Linked DNA regions of Homo sapiens: all the other regions are linked to region 1. Evidence: promoter capture Hi-C in 16 types of primary human blood cells and fetal thymus (Javierre and others, 2016). All regions are on one chromosome and are shown on one strand. The core of a region is centred on a gene start or on the middle of the fragment in contact, and the rest is flanking DNA. Distances in the headings are between cores, read along the strand shown.

Region 1 (2,873 bases), core at 190-2,689:
TTTCCAGGACTCTCTTAAGTGTCCTAAGAATATTGACTCATTCAAAAGCAGCCCAGCTGTAGTTGGGAGAGCACCAGCACTTGCTCTATAAAGATCTAGATTGTCTCTCTACCTCAAGAGGAATCCAAAATCCTGTTATGCTGGACTCTGAAATGATCCCCAGCCCTTTGGTGATCACACTGTTTATGAGCAGTCTGAATTCCATTCTTGGGTCTACCTAAACTAGCACCCTCGGGCTATGGGGCCCAGTGGGGAGACCACCTAGCATGCTGGCTGCCTGGAGCCCAGGGAACTGTCAAGATGGCTCTGGAAGACTTCTCGCCTTTTAAAAGCCCCGTATTTCTTTTACATATATTTTTGTCCTCATGAATTTTGCCAACCGCAATGGACTAAAATCTATTATAGCGTCCTGGAAAGGTGGGGAAAAGATGGGATAGTTGAGGAGAGTTTAATGAAGGGACTATTTAAAAAGGTGTGGATGGGGTTAAAGGAAACCTCTGGGCGTCATTACCCACTCCAGGCCTGAAGGGGCAAGGGTAGTTAGTGGTAACCAGAACCTGGAGAAAACTGCAGGAGAGGGCCACAGGATGGGAGTAATGGCTTTCAGATGAAGAACATAGCCACTGCTAACAGGGTGGCCCGCTGGGGATGCAGGGGAGGTCCTGAATCACATCCTGCCTTCTGATCTGCAGGTGCCTCCCACTTGCCAAAACCAATTGAAAGCCAGATTATAGTTGACGTAGCCCATAAAGGTCAGTCCTGAGTCACAGAGCAGAGTGGAGAGTGGGTCTGAAGGGACAGAGGAAAAACCAGCAAGCACCTCCTGTTTTTTCCCACAGCCAGCACCTTGGTTCAGCCCTTACCCTTTCTTGCCTGTCCCCTGGACCCATCAAATCCACTGCTTTTAATGACCAGTCTGTTTCCAAGAGGCTATATTCATTCCACTTGGGACTGGGGCATATGCACTTGGGTAGAAGAACCAGCTGTGCAGTGTCAAGACCCTTCCCTCAGAGACCTTATCAGTAAAATGGCGGGTGGACTCGGGGATGCCCGAAGACTTTTCCGGACCACGATTTTCCGATGCTGGACACATATTTAAACATGAAGGAATAGACTTGCGACTTTTAAGCGCAAACAATGGGTGGAAATGGACAGAAACTGCCTCCGTGCCCACTTGCAGCGGACTACGTAGCCCTGGCAGACAGGCAATTGCTTCAAACAAGCGCCCTCCAAGGGCGTAAGCTAGAGGGGCCCGGGCGGGCGCTTTCCCGTGGACCCTCCCACCTCGCGGGTAGAGGAAGTCCTTCAGTTCAGGCACAACCCTGAGCGTCCCCCGCAGTCTCCAACTCCGGCGCCAGTCAGGTTGTGGGGTGGGGGCGGCGGAGGGCGGAGAGCGCAGGCGCAGAGTCCGCGCGGCGGCGCCCCTCTCCCTCCGCAGTACTCCGGGCAGCGCCCGCCTCGATTTTCCCAGGCGAGGGCACGCCCGCGTCAGTCGCCTCCGGGGCACCTTCCTCGCCACGACACGCAGGTAACCGGGCCCCGGGAGCCGGTCGGCGGCGGCGGACTGGGACCTTGATCCTGCCTGCCCGGCCGCCCGACAAGGGAATGAGAGCGGACCCCGAACTCCACACACCCGCGTTTAGCCGCCACACCTAAGGGGCACAACAGTCTTTTTGGGTAAGGGCCGGGCTGGGGGCGACGCGCCCCGCCCGCTTTGCAGACTTCGGGGTGCTCTGCACGACGCCTGAAAGGCCGCGGGGCCCGCATTTCTCTGTGCTGCCCTCCTGGAGAACCGGGACACGGGGACGGGAGGGCCAGCATCGGCTACGGCCCGGTTTCCCGTTTCTTTCCGCTGTCGCGTGTCTGGGCCCTCCTGCAGCGTCCATGATGAAGGCCAGGGGCTGTTGCTTTCCTCTCGCCCAGTAGCCAACCCAAGCAAGGGGTGAGTCACTGTGGCGTCATATGGGATCAATTTCAAATACAAGTTTTAAAAAAGGCTGGATGATTTTAGAAATATGGCCAAGAATTTGTATTTTCCATTACTCTCTTGTCTCATGTCCATGACTCTTGAACGCCAGTCTGTGGGCGCTGAGATTTTCGTGGTACATCGACGGTTTGTAGACATCTTTTCCCAAGGGAAGACGAGGGCAAGGGTTAGTGGAGGAAGGGCCTCGTCACGGCCGAGAGTGGCGGAGAAGGCTCAGGGCAAGTCCGCACAGCCTCCAGCAGCCACGGGGAGGAAAAGGCGAATCTTTCCTCACAGTGCTCTGGGCGCTGTAGAATTTCTACGCCACGTGCACCCATTTGGCCTCATTTGAGAGGAGGAGAGGGAAGAAGGGTCGCGCGGGCCGGCAGGAAAGAGACTCGTGTTGCGGCGGATGAAGGCTCAGCGCGGACCTGCATCTCGGGCCAGGTTTTCTTTCACCCGGCTCCGCGAGGAGCGAGGCGGAAAGCTCGGGTCCGAGTGTTGATCGAGGACCTGGAGATAGTAACCCCCCACGTCCAGAGTGCTGGGGGTGGGTCCAGAGGGCTGGGGGTAGGTCCAGAGGGCTGGGGGTAGCTCCGGAGGAGCGATCTTCCTCCGCGGGAAAGGACTTGGCTCAGGCTTGCCTATGTCCGTGGTGCTGAAGTGCCTCGCGCGCCCTCGTCGACTGACTTCCTGGGCCGCGGCCTGCGTTGCCCTTCTACTCTGCACCTTTGCCAAAAATAGCCCATCTCCATGGCTGGTGGCCAGAGTGGAGCAGGCCCAACACTGAAACTCTTTTCAGACAAGTTGAGGCTGGTTTCCTGAACATAACCCGAAAGCAAATGTGGCTTGCCTTGGAGGTACAGATAAGCATATGCATAACAGATTTTATTACCTATGAGAAAGT
Region 2 (2,873 bases), core at 126-2,625, 770 kb before region 1:
TCTGATCCATGCACTCCCCTGTCCACCAGCCCCTCCCAGGGCTCCTGTCTGGCTTCTCCCATAGGAGCAGGCACACAGCACAGCCTCCACTCCCCTGCGAGAGCGCTTTTGCCAGTGGCCCCCAGTGGAGCGCTTTTACTGGTGGCCTGGGAGCACCTTGGCTCACCCAGCACAGCTGGTGCTCGACCTCAGGGAGCCAGAGAACTAAGCTACAGGCCTGGTCCCAGGCCCCCAGGGTTAGAGCACACAGTCCAGGAGTGCCAAGCTGAGACTTGTGGTTGGAACTCAAGTGGCGGAAGAGCCCTTACTCTCAGAGCACTGGGAAAAGTGAGGTATGGATTAATGGGCTGGCACAGGAACTGGGCCACAACCTCTACCCAAGGGAGCCTGGCAGTCTGGAACACCTAATAGCCCAGTGATCTGGGTGCAGAAGTCTTGTGACAAACTAGCTGGTTGGGCCAAATTCTGGGCAGTAACCAGGAGACCTGTCAAGGAAGCACAAGCTGGGAAGTTCTCACTGCTATCTGCTGGCCAAAAAAACCTAGGCTGTGGGCACCACACCAGCTGCACGGCCAAGGCAGCATCACCCTACCCAGGGATCCCTCACCCTTGACCTACTGCATGAACAGACCACCCACAGACATACCCCTAACCTGCAGTCTACCTGGTAGCCCTTACTATTAAATGCCATCTCCCAGGTTACAGCTTGAATTACAGCACCAAAAAATTCCAGCATGAATTGCCTGAGAAAACCCAGTACAGGATTCTGGCCACAAATAAAGATCCCATACAGGCCAGGCACAGTGACTCATACCTGTAATCCCAGCACTTTGGGAGGCCGAGGCAGTAAGATTGCATGAGCCTAGGAGTTCAAGACCAGCCTAGGTAACATGGCAAGACTCTGTCTCTACAAAAAAATTAGCCAGGCATGATGGTATGAACCTGTGGTTCCAGCTGCTTGGGAGGCTGAGGCAGGAGGATCACTTGAGCCCAGAAGGTTGAGGCTGCAGTGAGCTGTGTTCACGCCATTGTACTCCAGCCTTGGTGACAGAGCCAGGCTTTGTCTCAAGAAAGACAGAAAACTGTAATCCCAGCACGTTGGGAGGCCGAGGCAGGTGGATCACCTGAGGGTCAGGAGTTTGAGACCAGCCTGGCCAACATGGTGAAACCCCATCTCTACTAAAAATACAAAAAATTAGCCGGGCATAGTGATGGGCACCTATAATCCCAGCTACTCCGGAGGCTGAAGCGGGAGAATCATTTGAACCTGGGAGGCAGAGGTTGCAGTGAGCCGAGGTTGCGCTGTTGCACTCCAGCCTAGGCAACAAGAGTGAAACTCCATCTCAAAAAAAAAAAAAAGAAATCCAGAAGAGATTCCATACAGAGCCTTGGCCCTCTGAAAGCATGCAGAAATAAAGCCAATTGGCTATACTCAGCTTGCACCACAGTCAAACCCTCAAGGGAAATAAAGTAAAAACAAAAAAGCTCCATCCAAAGGACAAAGGACAGCAACATCAAAAGATAAAGGAACACCTGCCCTCACAGATGAGAAGGAACCAGCACAAGAACTCTGACAATTCTAAAACCCAGAGTGTGTTCTTACCTCCAAATGATCTCACTAGCTCCCCAGCAATGGTTGTTAATCAAATTAAAGCAGCTGAAATGACAGAATTCAGAATCTGGATGGTAAGAAAGCTCAATGAAATACAGGAGAAAGTTGAAACTCAATCCAGGGAAAACAGTAAAATGATCCAAGAGTTGAAAGATGACACAGCCATTTTAAGAAAGAACCAAACTGAACTTCTAGAATTGAAAAATTTACTACGGGAATTCCATAATACAACTAGAAGCATTAATAACAACAGATCAATCTGAGGAAAGAGTCTCAGAGCTCAAAGACCACTCCTTTGAATCAATGCAGGCAGACAAAAATAAAAAAGAATTTTAAAAAATGAAAACTCTCAGAAATATGGGATTATGTAAAGAGACCAAACCTATAACTCATTGGCATTCCTGAGAGAGAAGGAGCGAGAGTACGCAACTTGGAAAACGTATGAGGATATAGTCCACGGAAATTTCCCCAGTCTCACTAAAGAGGTGGACATGGCTGAACTCCATGGAGCAGTTTGGAGATTTCTCAAAGAACAGAGTTTACATTTCAATCCAGTAGTTCTATTACTGGGTATATACCCAAAGAAAAATAAGTCATTCTGCCAAAAAGACTTATGCACCCATATGTTCAATGAAGCACTGTTCACAATTGCAAAGACATGGAATCAACATACATGCCCATCAATGGTGGACTGGATAAAGAAAATGTGGTACAGGTACACCATGGACTACTAAGCAGCCGTAAAAAAGAATGAAGTCTTGTTCTTTGTAGCAACATGGATGCAGCTGGAGACCATTATCCTAAGCAAATTCGCAGAAACAGAAAACCAAATACCATATGTTCTCACTTGTAAGTGGGAGCTAAACATCAAGTACACATGGACATAAAGATGAGAACAGGCCGGGCGTGGTGGCTCACGCCTGTAATCCCAGCACTTTCGGAGGCCGAGGTGAGTGGATCACGAGGTCAGGAGATCGATACCATCCTGGCTAACACAGTGAAACCCCGTCTCTACTAAAAATACAAAAAAAAATTTAGGCAGGTGTGGTGGCGGGTGCCTGTAGTCCCAGCTACTTGGGAGGCTGAGGCAGGAGAATGGCGTGAACCCAGAAGGCAGAGCTTGCAGTGAGCTGAGATTGCGCCACTGCACTCCAGCGTAGGCAACAGAGCGAGACTCCGTCTCAAAAAAAAAAAAAAGATGAGAACAGTAGACACTGGGGAATACAAGAAAGGGTAGGGATGGAGGGAGCAAGGGCTGAAA
Region 3 (2,873 bases), core at 103-2,602, 740 kb before region 1:
GTGACTATTCATATATCTGATTTTATTTCTGCCATTTCATTTTTTTATATTTCTTACATTCTTTTGTGCTTTTATTTTTCTTTCTGAATCTTTCACTTCTGAATATGTCTTTATTTATCTGCCCACTTACATAATAATTTGGCTGACAACAGAATTGTGGGTTCAGTATCATTGATTCTGGATTTTGCCGTAGGGGAGTACAGTGAGTCAGGGAAGACCCAGGTTTACTTCCAGCTCAGGGCCCTGCATCTCTACCTGCCATGCCTATGCCAGGCCACCATGTATCATCACTATTGTATATATGAGTAACCTTTGTGATATAAACTTAATTTTATTACAAAATGAAACCCTATATGTTGATGCCTACCCCTCTTAATGTTGCTCACATAACTTTGAAAATTAAAAACAGTATTTGTTTCTGGCCAAATAATTAAGACTATGATCTAATTGTTCTTTTCATGCCAGTCTCTGACCTCTGACCAACTATAGTCCCCAAGGTAATGGTACTTCCCTTCCCCTGCTTTTACATCCTCCACAGCATCCAGCCCTTCACTGAGCATATTACAGAGCTCAGTAAATGCTTATAGATTGATTGGTTGATTAAAGGTAGGATGAGGTTGCCTATTAAAGGGTTTCTGATTTGGTACCAGAAAAAAATTTTAAATTCAGTTTAAAACAGAAATTCGCTAGACTCTGCACAGTGGCCAAAGCTGCTTTTTCATAATGTTTAAATTCTTCTTTTCATATAATTTCAGACCCTAGCACTTTTGGAAGAAGAGGAAGATATAAACCAAATTACAGATTACTTCTCCTATGAACATTTCTATGTTATTTATTGTAAATTCTGGGAACTAGATACTGATCACGACCTCTACATCAGCCAGGCCGATCTGTCTCGATACAATGACCAGGGTAAGTGATTCTGTAGATGCTAAGACTTAACCATTTTAAAGAGTTATATAAATTATCACTACTCATTATGAGAAATTCCCGTTTGCTAAATTCTAAACCTAATCAAGTCCTCTTTACAGGCCAATAATTTTTAAGAGGGGATGAGTGAAGATAATATAATTTTTTATTAAATTAATAAAAGGCCAGATGTAGGAGAAGGAGTTTGGAAGTAAGTAACCAATCACAGTCTTAGTTTTGATAAAGCGATGAGTCTTTATACTGGTGTGTATTTTCTGATGATGAATTGAATAAGATCCACACCTGTTTAAATCTGTTTGAAAGAGAATATGTATACACCTTTATAACCCTTCCCACTTAACAATATTTCTGTAAAAAGCCAAGCATGAAAATAATGTTTTTAACTTGCCAAGTTTTATTTTCAAGGACTCACAAAAATTTACTTTTGGAAATTTTGTTCCAGAAAGATACGTCTCTGCAGATGAATTTTGCGTGCTTTCTTTTGTCAGAAAACAAAAAATTACATATCACATGATAATACCCTTTTTACTTCATTTTTGCCAGCGGTAAATCTAGAACCTGTTGCCTACTGATTTAATATCCTTGGTTTTTTTGAGACAGCGTCTCACTTTGTCACCTAGGCTGGAATGCAGAAGCATGAACACGGCTCACTGTAACCTCAACCTCCTGGGCTCAAGCCATCCTACCACCTCAGCCCCTAAGTAGCTGGGACTACAGGCACATGCCACCATACCTGGCTAATTTTTTTGTATTTTTTTGTAAAGATGGTGGTATGGTTTGGCTATGTTCCCACCCAAATCTCATCTTGAATTGTAGCTCCCATAATCCCCACCTGTTGTGGCAGGGACCTGGTGGCAGGTAATTGAATCATGGGAGTGGGTCTTTCCCATGTAGTTCTCATGATAGTGAATAAGTCTCATGAGAGCTGATGGTTTTATAAAGGGGAGTTCCTCTGCACATGCTCTCTTGCCTGCCACCCTGTAACATGTGCTGTTGCTTCTCCTTTGCCTTCCGCCATGATTGTGAGGCCTTCTCAGCCATGTGGAACTATGAGTCCATTAAACTCTTCCCATTATAAATTACCCAGTCTCAGGTATGTCTTTACTAGCAGCATGAGAACAGACTAATATAGTAAATTGGTACCAGTAGCATGGGGCGCTGCTGTAAAGATACCCGAAAATGTGGAAGGGACTTTGGAACTAGGTAATAGGCAGAGGTTGGAACAGTTTGGAGGGCTCAGATAAAGACAGGAACATGTGGGAAAGTTTGGAACTTCCTAGAGACTTGAATGGCTTTAACCAAAATGCTGATAGTGATATGGACAATAAAATCCAGGCTGAAGTGATCTCAGGTGGAGATGAGGAACTTGTTGGGAACTGGAGTAAAGGTCACTCTTGCTATGCAAAGAGACTTGGCATTTTGCCCCTGCCCTAGAGATCTGTGGAACTTTGAACTTGAAAGAGATGATTTGGGGTATGTGGTGGAAGAAATTCCTAAGCAGCAAAGCATTCAAGAAGTGACAGTGCATAAAAGTTTGGAAAATTTGCTGCCTGATAATGCAGTAGAAAATAAAAACCCATTTTCCGGGGAGAAATTCAAGCCCACTGCAGAAATTTGCATAAATAATGGGGAGTCAAATGCTAATCACCAAAACAATGGGGAAAATGTCTCCAGGGCATGTCAGAGACCATCATGACAGCCCCTCCCATCACAGGCCTGGAGGCCTAGGAGGGAAAAATGGTTTTCTGGGCCAGGCCTGGGGCCCCCCCTGCTCTATGCAGCCTCTGAACATGGTGACCTGCATCCCAGCTGTTTCAGCTCCAGCCATGGCTTAAAGGGGCCAACATACAGCTCAGGCCGTTGCTTCAGAGAATGCAAACCCCAGCCCTTGGTGGCGTCCACGTGGTGTTGGTTCTGTGGGTACACAGAAGTCAAGTATTGAG
Region 4 (2,873 bases), core at 272-2,771, 710 kb before region 1:
CTAGGGCAATACTAACTCATGTTCGGCTTGGAAAGACATTTTATCTGAAACATAAAATTTCAAGAAAATTCACAAAAGTGTGTGGTCTTTTCCCTCTTCACTTATTTTCTTTGTGTTACCATTTTTACTCTAAAAAAATTACCTTTAAATTTTACTTTTTTTAATAAATGGTATAATTATTGATATTTGTTCTGATCTACAAAGAACATTATTAGTCAGTGCTTAATAAATTCTGGGCACTGTGTTGAAGAGATACTGGATATATGGAGATGGCAGAGATACAAGAACAAAAGGTGGCAACCAAAGTATCTACATTAGGAAAAAGGAAGTGATATGGAGAGAAGGGCTGTTTCCAGGAAGCTATCACAGACAGCGTGGTATCTGAGTTGGCTTTTAAAGAACAAAAATTTGCCAGCGAATGGGGGCTTGGGGAAGGTACATTTCAGGCGGGCCTGTGGCAAACCACAAGTCACTCCAGGTGGCTGCTGTGCAAAGTGCCAGAGGAGAGGGGACCAGAGAAATGTCTCTGATTACAAGGCTAAAGAGTAGACTTACCAGGTGCTATGGCTTGTGCTTGTAATCCCAGCTACTTAGGAAGCTAAGACGGGAGGATCACTTGAGGCCAGGGGTTCAAGACCAGCCTGGGCAACATAGTGAGCCCCTGTGTCTACAAAAAAATTTTAAAATTAGCAGGGCATGGTGGTATGCCTGCATTCTCAACTACTTAGTAGGTGGAATGCCTGTAGTCTCAGCTACTCAGTAGGCTGAGGCAGGAGAATCACTTGAGCCCAGATTCTGAGGTTAGCAGTAAGCTATTGGTGCACCACTGCACTCCAGACTAGGCAACAGAGTGAGACCCTATCTCTTTTAAAAAAAAGAGTTGGAATCAGCCAGCCACGGTGGCTCACACCTGTAATCCCAGCACTTTGGGACGCTGAGGCGGGCAGATCACCTGAGGTCAGGAGTTCGAGACCAGCCTGGCCAACATGGCGAAACCCTGTCTCTACAAAATACAAAAATTAGCTGGACGTGGTGGTACTTGCCTGTAGTCCCAGCTACTTGGGAGGCTGAGGCAGGAGAATTGCTTGAACCCAGGAGGCAGAGGCTGCAGTGAGCCGAGATCGTGCCACTATACTCCAGCCTGGGTGACAGAGTGAGATTCTATCTCAAAAAGAAAAAAAAAGAAAAAAGAAAAAAATGGAATCTATACCTAAAAAACCTGGCTGCTAAACAGTTATAATTTTGCCATTTGAGGTGTAGAAAATTACCTTAGGAGTTTTACCTTAGCACCTCTTTTAAACCTGTTGAAATGAAACATTTTTCAGGTAGGATTTTTTCAGCAGTATACATTTGTGTGATGATCTATCTCCAATTCTTTGTCTTTGATTTTTTTTATTTCTCGTGGCTGTCTTCTTTCCAATCAGGATGTTGAGAACGATGGGCCTGAGCCCTCAGACTGGGACCGGTTTGCCGCTGAGGAGTATGAGACGCTTGTTGCAGAGGAATCTGCCCAAGCACAATTCCAGGAAGGGTGAGTAAGTTTCCCTATGTCTTATAGAATTTTTAACAGGAATGCGCATGTCCAGAGTATTAAAACCCCCTTACAAAATCCTTTTCTGTTTTTTCCATTTTTGAATAGCATAAAAATGTGATTTAGCCAACTTTAGTTAAATGATTATTTTTTCCAGCAATCTTCACTCATTTCCTGACAGAGTCTTCTCATGTCCATTTCCTTTAATGAGTCTCATCTTTCACTGGAAACCGAGATCACTGAACAATCAAACTACTGTTTTAGTGATATTGATAAACCCTGTACATAAAGGAGGAGGCTAAAAGAACTAAAGCTCTGGCCGGGCACGGTGGCTCACGCCTGTAATCTCAGCACTTTGGGAGGCCGAGGCGGGTGGATAACCAGAGGTCGGGAGTTTGAAACCAGCCTGACCAACATGGAGAAACCCTGTCTCCACTAAAAATACAAAAAAATTAGCCGGGTATGGTGGTGCATGCCTGTAATCCCAGCTACTTGGAAGGCTGAGGCAGGAGAATCGGCTTTTACCCGGGAGGCAGAGGTTGCAGTGAGCCGAGATCATGCCATTGCACTCCAGCTTGGGCAACAAGAGCAAAACTCCGTCTCCAAAAAAAAAAAAAAAAAAAAAAAAAAAACTAAAGCTCCTTCAATAATAATAAAGATGATCATGTTTAGAACAAATCTTTATTATACATGGTTTTGTGCAGGAAGTAACTTCTACATGTATTTCTACTAGTCAGGGCATAATTCCATAAAGGGACCATGTTAAGAAATTTAATTATCCAAGAATTTGACTCCTTGGATCACTTCAGCAACTTTATAATTTGCTGGTTTTTTCCATCATCTTCTAGTAACTCCTTTTGTAATTCTTCTAATTCTTCCTTAGTCATAGCTTCTGTAAAGGCCTCAATTAATCTTTCTCATTAATGTAGTGTACTTTTTGAACAGGCACTATTCATATAATATTCAAAGAAACAAAAGAAATAGTAAAAAGTTTCCTACTACCCACTTCTCCTCCCCAGAAGCAACAAGTGTCATCATGTTCTTGCTTACTCTTCCAAAGAGCCTCTCTCTCCACCTATCTATGTATATTTAGAAAGATACATGAATTCTTTTTTTTTTTTTTTTTTTTTTTTGAGACAGTCTCAAATGTGGTCTCTGATGTGGTCCATTCAGGTCAGCCTCCTGAGGCATAGAGATAGAGGAAGAGCAGGTCTAGAGGGATAAACAGAAACTATCCAGCCCCATAGATAAAGTCAAATAGTCCTCAATATAGATTGTACCATTTTATACCTCTACCATTCATTAAATATTATCTTTTTTGAGGGTGCTGAACAAGCCATCA
Region 5 (2,873 bases), core at 117-2,616, 680 kb before region 1:
CAGGGAGTAAAATATGTGACTGTGTGCAGTGATTTTGAGGCAGGAAACAGCATGTTGGGGAGATTTTTAAAGCCTAGTATGGCCAGAATATAGTGAGCAACAGAGGGAGATGTGGTTACAAAGTCTAGCAGGGGCCAGATCATGCAGGGCCTAGGGAAGCCACTGAAAATTGTTAAGCAAGGGAGTGATATAATCCCTACCCCTTAGGTTTTCTGAAGATTATTCTGCCAGATTAGTGGAAGTGCAAGAACAGAAGTAGGGAGACAAATAAGGAAGCCATTACATACATCTGAATCAGAGATGTGGTTAATTAATTCAGGAGTGAATAATCAGAAAACCTGTACATGACATCTCAGATTAAAAGATGAACACAAGCTAGCCAAAGAGGGAAGGGCATTTCAGGCAATTGAAAAACATGTACAGTGGCATTAGGTCCCAAGACCATAACCTATTCCAACACTATAAACAGCCTGGTATGGCAGTAGCAAAGGATATGTGGCAAGAGTGTAATCCAAACAAGAAAGTATGGTACCCTGAACTTAAGCCAGTGGTGGTAGGGAGGAAGAGGCAGGGTTGTATCCATATGGTCAACTGTAGTGAGGTGAGGAAAGAGGAACTTGGGATAACCGAGTTTCTGGCTTTGAGTGGGCAGATGACAGTGCCATTGACTAAAATAGGGAGAACCAGGGCAGTGGGAAAGATGAGTTCAAGTTTATACATGCTGCTGTTCTGAAAGAGCCATCTATATAGTAGGCAGCTGGATATATGGAGTTCTCCAGCTTAGAAAGAGGCTGAGGCTGGACATAGTTTGGAAACCACAGGTGAGTAGGCAGTGAGTAAAGCCATGGGAAAGACTAAGCTTACCAGGGAAGTACAAAACGAGAAGAGCTTATTAGTCCAGAACCTGGGACGCACTGGCATTGAAGGAGCAAGAGTTCTAAGATGGGTAATTTTATTGTGAGACATACGGCACATTGTAGGATGTTTAGCACCATCCCTGCACTCTACCCACTAGATGCCAGTAGGACCCACTCAGTGGTGACAGTCAAGACACAGACATGTCTCCAGACATGCCCAAATGTCCCCTGGCGGCGGGGGACAAAATCACCCTAGTTGAGAACCACCAAAATTAAGAGGAGTCTCCAGGATGCTGACAAAGGAGGGTTATTGAATGAACTTCCTTTTGCAAATGTTTTATTCAAAAATGACATACACAAAAATGTATAATCCCTCCCCCAATATAGGATTAGGTGTCACTCACCAACATGCCCAAAATCACATTAAGTGATCAAACCCAGATTGGAACCTGACTTTTATAGTCTGACTCCAAAGCCTGTGCTCTAAGCCTAAATCACTTAACCCCTAACTCCATAAGGTCTCCATTAGGCTTCAAGTGCTGTGAGGAGAGGGCTGATTCAGTCTTTTTCATCATTATAATCCTAGCATTTGGCTCTGACACTTAGCAACAGGAGTTCAAATATTTACTGAATGAGTCACACTTCACACTTAACTCTGAAAATATGCGTTATTCATAGACCTACACTGAGGTATTTAACACTGATAGCTTACAGACAACACGTTAGGGCACCAAGGGGAAGATGCTCCCATCCTGACAAGAAATCAGCAGCATTGGTTTTGAGAATTTTGTTCCCCAGAACAGAGGCTCTGCCATCAACCATTTCACTTGCATTAGCGGAAAGTTCCTCTCCTATTGCCTCCTTATCCAGCACATCCCATGCCGCATTGAGGCCTCAAGGAGATGGGGGAAGAGGAGTGGAAACAAGAATGGAATGGAATATTTTTATTAAATGAACAAATTATAACTTTTGACAGTATCATAAACTGGTAGTCATAGGGAACAATTTTCTATCAAGTAAGCTTTTTAAAAGGTTTAAACCTCTAACCTCTATTCAAAAATGTTGGCCTAGGCTGGGTGCAGTGGCTCACACCTTTAATCCCAGCACTTTGGGAGGCTGATGGGGGTGGATCACCTGAGGTCAGGAGTTGAAGACCAGCCTGGCCAACATGGCGAAACCCTGTTGCTACTAAGAAAACACAAAAACCAGCCAGGAGTGGTGATATACGTCCGTAATCCCTGCTTCTTGGGAGGCTGAGGCAGGAGAATTGCTTGAACCCAGAAAGCAGAGGTTGCAGTGAACCAAGATCATGCCACTGCACTCCAGCCTGGGCAACAGAGCAAGACTCCATCTCAAAAACAAAAAGATGTTGACTGGGCGCAGTGGCTCATGCCTGTAATCCCAGCATTTTGGGAGGCCGAGACAGGTGGATCACTTGAGGTTAGGAGTTCAAGACCAGTCTGGCAAACATGGTGAAACCCTGTCTCTACTGAAAATACAAAAATTACCCGGGCATGGTGGCACATGCCTGTAAATCCCAGCTACTCGGGAGGCTGAGGCAGGAGAATCACTTGAACTTGGGAGGCAGAGGTTGCAATGAGCCAAGATGGCCCCACTGTACTCCAGCCTGGGCGACACAGCGAGACTCCATCTCAAAAGAAAAAACACACACAATGTTTTAGGAACTTGAATAGGTGCCACTTACTGTATATACCTACCTCAGCATATTTTCCCTCACTAATTGGCCCCAATTGGTACCTTTTTGATGAAGGGACTGTATGTCCACAAATTCCTGCTTAAATATTGTGGGAGATCCCTGCAAGGGCTAAGCCAGTGATGTCAAATACTATAATAGACATTGCTGATGTACATTTTTCTGATGTACATATCTACATATGAGGCTCAGAGATATAGCCTCAGAATATTTATCAATATTTCAGGCAGCCACATCATTTCCAAGAGAAAATATTTCATCTCTGCCTAAAGCCAACCTTAGGGGTAGCCTGGAGGATACAG
Region 6 (2,873 bases), core at 120-2,619, 640 kb before region 1:
CCTAGAATGTCCTTCTTCCTGCCTTGCATGGTCAATTCTTCTTCAAAAATCAATTCAAATATGACCTCCAAGAGGAAGCCTTTCTTAATTAACCTCCCTCAATCTGTTGAAAAAGCACTTTACACATTCTCCTATTACAGCACTTAATCACATTATATTGTCATTGTTCACTGGGTCTCACTCAAGGCCAGAAACTTATTTATCTCTAAATCTTTAAACTAGTGTTGGCACATAAGCCAGCACCTAATAAATGTAAAATGAATTAATCATAAAAAGAACATTAAATCTGGGAGTGACCTTGGTAATCACTTGTTCTGTGACCTCATTTTAACCAAGATGGACTTTCATGGATTACATAACTGGGTACTAGCAATGAAAAATAGAGGCTCAGTCTACTGATTCCCAGCCTAGAATTATTTTCACTTATCCAGCACTATCTGTACTTCTATTAAAACAGTCCATGGCATACACAGAGACAATTTTAGCTTCTTGCCCCTTCCCAAAAATGATTACAGAAACTGAGCAATAGGCAGAATAATTAGCCACAAGATATACAACCTTTTATTGGAAAGAAGAAATAGGAACAGGTACTGGCAATAATGGATAGTGACTGAGGCAGGAAGAGCAAAAGGAAGGGGAGGATGGATTCTCAATAACAGGTTTGTGAGGGTCAGGAAATCCTTACTGCACAAAAACTGGACCAGCAAGAGCCCTGCCTAAATTCTCTACACACTAACTTCAATTTTTAAAGTTAGCCTTAAATGCTTCAAGTGGACATATATGCTATAAAGCATTTGTACCATCTTCTGTGTAAAAGAGATTCCAACAAAAAACAAAGATCGGCCTATATACCAGTCTAAAATTTACAGCATCAGAAACCTTAATATGTATATGTATATTAAATGTGTATGCATAATGTATTCATGTGTAATATATATGTTTAAAATAAGTAAATACATATATACTAAACTCATGATTAGACTAAGCTGGTTTTCATTCATTTATAAAATTTTCTGGGAATGTAATAGCAATAAACCGATGCTGATCAACCCAAATAAACACGTACACTCTATTTCTCTTGTGGTATGAGAGTAACTATGCTGAATTTGAGTCATGGCTGGGCATGGTGGCTCACGCCTATAATCCCAGCACTTTGGGAGGCCGAGGCAGGTGGATCACGAGGTCAGGAGTTCGATACCAGCCTGACCAACATGGTGAAACCCCATCTCTACTAAAAATACAAAAAGTAGCCAGACGTGGTGGCGCACACCTGTAATCTCAGCTATTCAGGAGGCTGAGGCAGGAGAATCACTTCAACCCAGGAGGCGGAGGTTGCAGTGAGCCGAGATCGCGCCACTGCACTCCAGCCTGGGCGACAGAGCAAGACTCCGTCTCAAAAAAAAAAAAAAAAGTGGGAGAATACACTTCTCTCACTGATGTCAAAAGTCTGAGATAGGCCAGGTGCAGTGGCTCACACTTACAATACCAGCATTTTGGGAGGCTGGGGCAGGAGGATCACTCAAGCCCAGGAGTTCGAGACCAGCCTAAGCAGCATAGTGAAACCCTGCCTCTACGAAAAATAAACAAAATTAGCCAGACATGGTGGCACATGCCTGTGGTCCCAGCTACTAAGGAGGCTGAAGTGGGAGGATCATTAGAGTCCAGGAGTTCGAGGCTGCAAGTGAGCCATGATCGGATCACTGCACCCTAGCCTGCGTGACAGAGGCCCCATCTCAAAAAACAACAACAACAACAAGTCTGAGATAGGGCCGGAACAATAACCGTTTCATAATCAATTTATCTAAATTTCCCCATTTTTCACCTTTTCCAAATGAAGAGTGAATTGTTTAGCCTATGTTCATTGAATAAAACATTTCTCCTTCCTCCATTACATATGTAAATAATTCCTGGGACCCAGCTATATGCCAAACACTGTGCTAAGCCTGCCACTGTGCTAAGCCTGCCATCACTTAGCAAGGCATTCTCAAACCTTTTTTAAATCTCTGAATTATAGCACCAAAATTAAACTCCAAAATTAAAGATGTCGAGTATGTTTCCAAACAATAACTAGTAGGACATATTCTAGATACATATACAAGGAAATAATCTCTGGATTCAGCCAAACAAAAACGACTATACCATAAAAAGTTAGTATTTATCATTTCCAAATTGGTGCAAATTAATCAACAGTTCTTGGACAAGTAAAACTATATTCTTTGCCCAATATAGTTGTGTGCAGGCATATTTTAAAGTCTAAACTTCTTTTAAAACTTTTCAGTGGCCGGCTGGGTGTGGTGGCTCATGCCTGTAATCCCAGCACTATGGGAAGCCACGGCAGGTGGATTGCTTGAGTCCAGGAGTTCAAGACCAGCCTGGGCAACACAGCAAAACCCCGTCTCTACTAAAAATACAAAAAATTAGCAGGACATGGGGGCATGCACCTGCAATCCCAGCTACTCGGGAGGGTGAGGTGGAACAATCACCTAAGCCCAGGAGGTTGAAGCTGTATTGAGCCAAGATCGTGTCACTGCACTCCAGCCTGGGCAACCAGAATGAGACCCTCTCTCAAAAAAAAAAAAAAAAAAAAAAACTTTTCGGCTGGGCACAGTGGTTCATGCCTATCATCTCAGCATTGGGAGGCTGAGGCAGGAGAATCACTTGAGCCCATGAATCTAAGACCAGCCTGGGCAACTGAGTGAGACCCTGTTACTACAAAAAAAAAAAAATTTAAAAATTAACCAGGTGTGGTGGCACACACCCTTCTCTCTCTTGCTCCTTCTTTCGCCATGTGATAGGCCTGCTCCCCTTTAGCCTTCTGCCATGATTGGAAGCTTCTTGAGACCCTCACCAGAAGCAGATGCTGGCACCATACT
Region 7 (2,873 bases), core at 95-2,594, 630 kb before region 1:
AGGATAGTTTGAGCCTAGGAGTTCAAGACCTGCCTGGGCAACACGGTAAGACCCTCTCCCTACAAAAACTTTAGCTGGGCATGATGGTACATGCCTGTAGTTCTAGCTAATTAGGAGGCTGAGGTGGAAGGACTGCATGAATCCAGGAGTTTAAGGCTGCAGTGAGCTAGGATCGCACCACTGCACTCCAACCTGAGCAACATAGCAAGATCCTGTTTCAATAAAAAGTTTTTTCAAACCGCTTAAAAATAAGCCCACACATAACACAAATTTAGAGAAACAAACTTGAAGAAGATAAAGGCAATTGGCAAAAAGTTAAAGCAATGTGCCTACACAGTAAGTAAAAGCCAAATTTCAACCTAATTGCAAAGTTTGAAGGGCTTTTTCCCTCCCTCACCTCTTCCTCTGAGGCTGTCATAAACACCTACATGTAAGTCACCAGGCAGGAAAGAATGTGAAGCAGAAGAAATACAAAACTGTAAAAGAAAAAACAATGTCTTCCCTAAAAAGTTTATTATATGTATCAAGAAAATCAGACTGATACAAAATCTGCACTCAAAGGAGATATAAGTATCTTATGACTGGAACAAAGGTTTACAGAAGGTTTAGACAAGAAAGATAACTTTTTTATTTTTTTGAGCCGGAGTTTCACTCTGTTGCCCAGTCTGGAGTGCAGTGGTGCGATCTCGGCTCACTGCAACCTCTGCCTCCCAGGTTCAAGCAATGTCTGGAGATCGGCCTCAGCCTCCTGAGTAACTGGGATTACAGGCACCTGCCACCACACCCAGCTAATTTGTGTATTTTTAGTAGAGATGGGGTTTCACTATGTTGGCCAGGCTGGTCTCCAACTCCTGACCTCAAGCGATCCGCCCACCTTGGCCTCCCAAAGTGCTGGGATTACAGGCACCTGGCCAGAAGTAACTTTTTGCTGCAGTGAGCAAGGAAGACTTCACCAAGGAGGCAGGGAGTTGAGTTAGGCCTTTAGAAAAAAGTAGTGTTTTAGGCAGAAGAAAATTAAGAAAGCAAAGATAAAAAAAAAAAGAAAAAGATATAAAAAAGCATGTTTGAAAGGACAAAAATATCAATCCAGTTAAAAGAGAATTATGTAAAACCACAGTTGAATAAAAGGATGAAAAGGTAGTAGCGGGTCAAATCTACAGGACGTGTTGAAACAAATTCCCTAATTAAGCATTACAACAGAATTAAACTTCATTTTTACAAATGCATTATCTTCATGAAATAAGACTGCCCATCCACGAATTTGAATGCACTAATGCTTTTCAGCTAAGGAAAAAAGTCTAGTACATACCTGGTACAAAAATATGTCAATGCTGGGCTGAATTCAAATAACTGATTTTTTTTCTATGTCTTTATAATCATAGACTTACGTCCAAAGAGATGGGAGGAAAAAAACCTGAACCTACATCCCTATTACTGAAACCATGCCAGCTACTCAATCATAAGGGAGAAGCAGAACTCACGATCTTTTCCATAGGATGATGTGAAATAAGAAAGCCCTGTCAGAAAAATTCCCCTTGTGTTGCCAAGACTGACAAAAAATAAAAATAAAAAAGGCTCCAGTTGGACTTTTAAATGTAGTGGGTTTTTTTTATCTTTAATTCCATTATTTAAAGTCCAGGTTAGAACTTGGGAAAATGTTCAATTAGACCACCACTACCATCCGAAAGCTATTAATAGGAACTTAAAACCTCTGAGGTTCTTAACAGTTTTAGGATAGTGGTGGTCTGCACAACTCAAAACTACCATTTCCCACTTAAATTAGAGAGCTAAGTTTCACCCATCTAGTAAACAGGGGACCTACCAGATTCTACAAATGTTAACTGATAATGACATCACTCTCAAATGCTGTTTCAGCAGGACAGAGTGGGCCCTTCCTCTTCCCCCTACCTCACCATAGTAGCACCCTACGGCCGGCACCAAAGGAAAAGAAAAAAAAAAGTATATGGAGAAGGAAGTTATGGCAGCTCCATTTCCTCAGTCCTCAAACCATCAAAATATGTGAGGACATTAAAAAAAAAAAGCACTCCATAAAAGTGGGAGTAGAGTGAGAGGTTACCATGAAACCAGGCAAACTCTTGATACACTTACATTTGTAAAACTTAAGCTGAAAGGAAACTGAATCTAGCCGAAAATTATCATTTTACACATCAAGAAACTGAGGCCCAGGGCAGTTAGGTGATTTGCCCTGGGCGACTATTCCTCTAAGGTGTTAAGTGTCTGTCACCAGTCAGAGTAGCACTTAATGACTTACTCAGTTACTTAAATGTTTATGACCTTAAGTACCTGTCTTGCAAAAAACACCACCGCCACCTCTTCTGCACCCATTCAGTGTCTTGCTTCAGGATCTAGATAGAGAATGCTGGATAAACCTCAAATGAATATTATTTCTCCCTTCAGCCACAACTGTCCCAAATTACTCTTCTTCCTTTATCTACTTTTAAATAAAGTGGAAACCTTAACGTGCCTGAATTTCCCAGGTTCTGACTAAACAAGTGGATCATCAAAACTTCAAAATTTAGGATAGAATATTAAGTGGAGCATGCATATTACTGCTTTGGCAGTTGCCCTTTCTTTTGTATTAACGTTTCAGTCCAGGTTTTTCGAAAAGCAAGTAATTATTACACACGCACAGTTAACATTCAAATTATCACTTTTGAGATATTTTCCTTAGACAATTTAGCATATCTCTTCTATCTTAAAAATTAAAGTATCCTACCCACCACGAGTTAATTTTTTTTAACAAAAACATCTAAAATAACCCTCGACAAAGCCAAAGTATATTAAACCACAAAATGAAAAAGTGGTAAGTAAAAGTCTCACCAGCTAAAAAGCACTTCGAGTACCAACAGCCT

Evidence for each region. Contacts are between HindIII fragments. The CHiCAGO score rates a contact against its expected background, and 5 or more counts as called.
Region 2: a fragment that was not itself captured here is called in contact with the fragment with the promoter of SLC35G2 in region 1 in 4 of 17 cell types (neutrophils, non-activated CD4 T cells, naive CD8 T cells and 1 more); the score reaches 7.6 in neutrophils.
Region 3: a fragment that was not itself captured here is called in contact with the fragment with the promoter of SLC35G2 in region 1 in 16 of 17 cell types (fetal thymus, neutrophils, naive CD8 T cells and 13 more); the score reaches 17.0 in fetal thymus.
Region 4: a contact is called between a fragment that was not itself captured here and the fragment with the promoter of SLC35G2 in region 1, in 6 of 17 cell types (total B cells, naive CD8 T cells, total CD4 T cells and 3 more). The highest score is 6.7, in total B cells.
Region 5: a contact is called between a fragment that was not itself captured here and the fragment with the promoter of SLC35G2 in region 1, in 5 of 17 cell types (fetal thymus, total CD4 T cells, naive B cells and 2 more). The highest score is 8.9, in fetal thymus.
Region 6: a fragment that was not itself captured here is called in contact with the fragment with the promoter of SLC35G2 in region 1 in 2 of 17 cell types (fetal thymus and neutrophils); the score reaches 7.2 in fetal thymus.
Region 7: a fragment that was not itself captured here is called in contact with the fragment with the promoter of SLC35G2 in region 1 in 1 of 17 cell types (neutrophils); the score reaches 6.6 in neutrophils.

What each region holds. Positions count from the first base shown.
Region 1 is chr3:136,817,687-136,820,559 of GRCh38, forward strand. It overlaps SLC35G2 (solute carrier family 35 member G2), which reads left to right and starts at 1,440. Exons shown (of 2, transcript NM_025246.3): 1 at 1,440-1,942. RefSeq lists silencers at 1,465-1,524, 2,588-2,637. The HindIII fragment of the contact is 16,057 bases long and covers 1-2,873 here.
Region 2 is chr3:136,045,110-136,047,982 of GRCh38, forward strand. All of the region lies in intron 4 of PPP2R3A (protein phosphatase 2 regulatory subunit B''alpha), which reads left to right. Among named protein-coding and RNA genes, the nearest start is that of PPP2R3A, 81 kb to the left of the region's middle. The HindIII fragment of the contact is 9,390 bases long and covers 1-2,873 here.
Region 3 is chr3:136,081,510-136,084,382 of GRCh38, forward strand. PPP2R3A (protein phosphatase 2 regulatory subunit B''alpha) reads left to right here. Exons shown (of 14, transcript NM_002718.5): 8 at 756-912. Among named protein-coding and RNA genes, the nearest start is that of MSL2, 110 kb to the right of the region's middle. The HindIII fragment of the contact is 7,708 bases long and covers 1-2,873 here.
Region 4 is chr3:136,104,792-136,107,664 of GRCh38, forward strand. It overlaps PPP2R3A (protein phosphatase 2 regulatory subunit B''alpha), which reads left to right. Exons shown (of 14, transcript NM_002718.5): 13 at 1,425-1,531. Among named protein-coding and RNA genes, the nearest start is that of MSL2, 90 kb to the right of the region's middle. The HindIII fragment of the contact is 4,479 bases long and covers 1-2,873 here.
Region 5 is chr3:136,141,280-136,144,152 of GRCh38, forward strand. The region is part of intron 13 of PPP2R3A (protein phosphatase 2 regulatory subunit B''alpha); the gene reads left to right. Among named protein-coding and RNA genes, the nearest start is that of MSL2, 54 kb to the right of the region's middle. The HindIII fragment of the contact is 1,019 bases long and covers 858-1,876 here.
Region 6 is chr3:136,173,949-136,176,821 of GRCh38, forward strand. The region is part of intron 1 of MSL2 (MSL complex subunit 2); the gene reads right to left. Among named protein-coding and RNA genes, the nearest start is that of MSL2, 21 kb to the right of the region's middle. The HindIII fragment of the contact is 2,920 bases long and covers 1-2,829 here.
Region 7 is chr3:136,191,554-136,194,426 of GRCh38, forward strand. All of the region lies in intron 1 of MSL2 (MSL complex subunit 2), which reads right to left. Among named protein-coding and RNA genes, the nearest start is that of MSL2, 3.3 kb to the right of the region's middle. The HindIII fragment of the contact is 3,944 bases long and covers 1-2,873 here.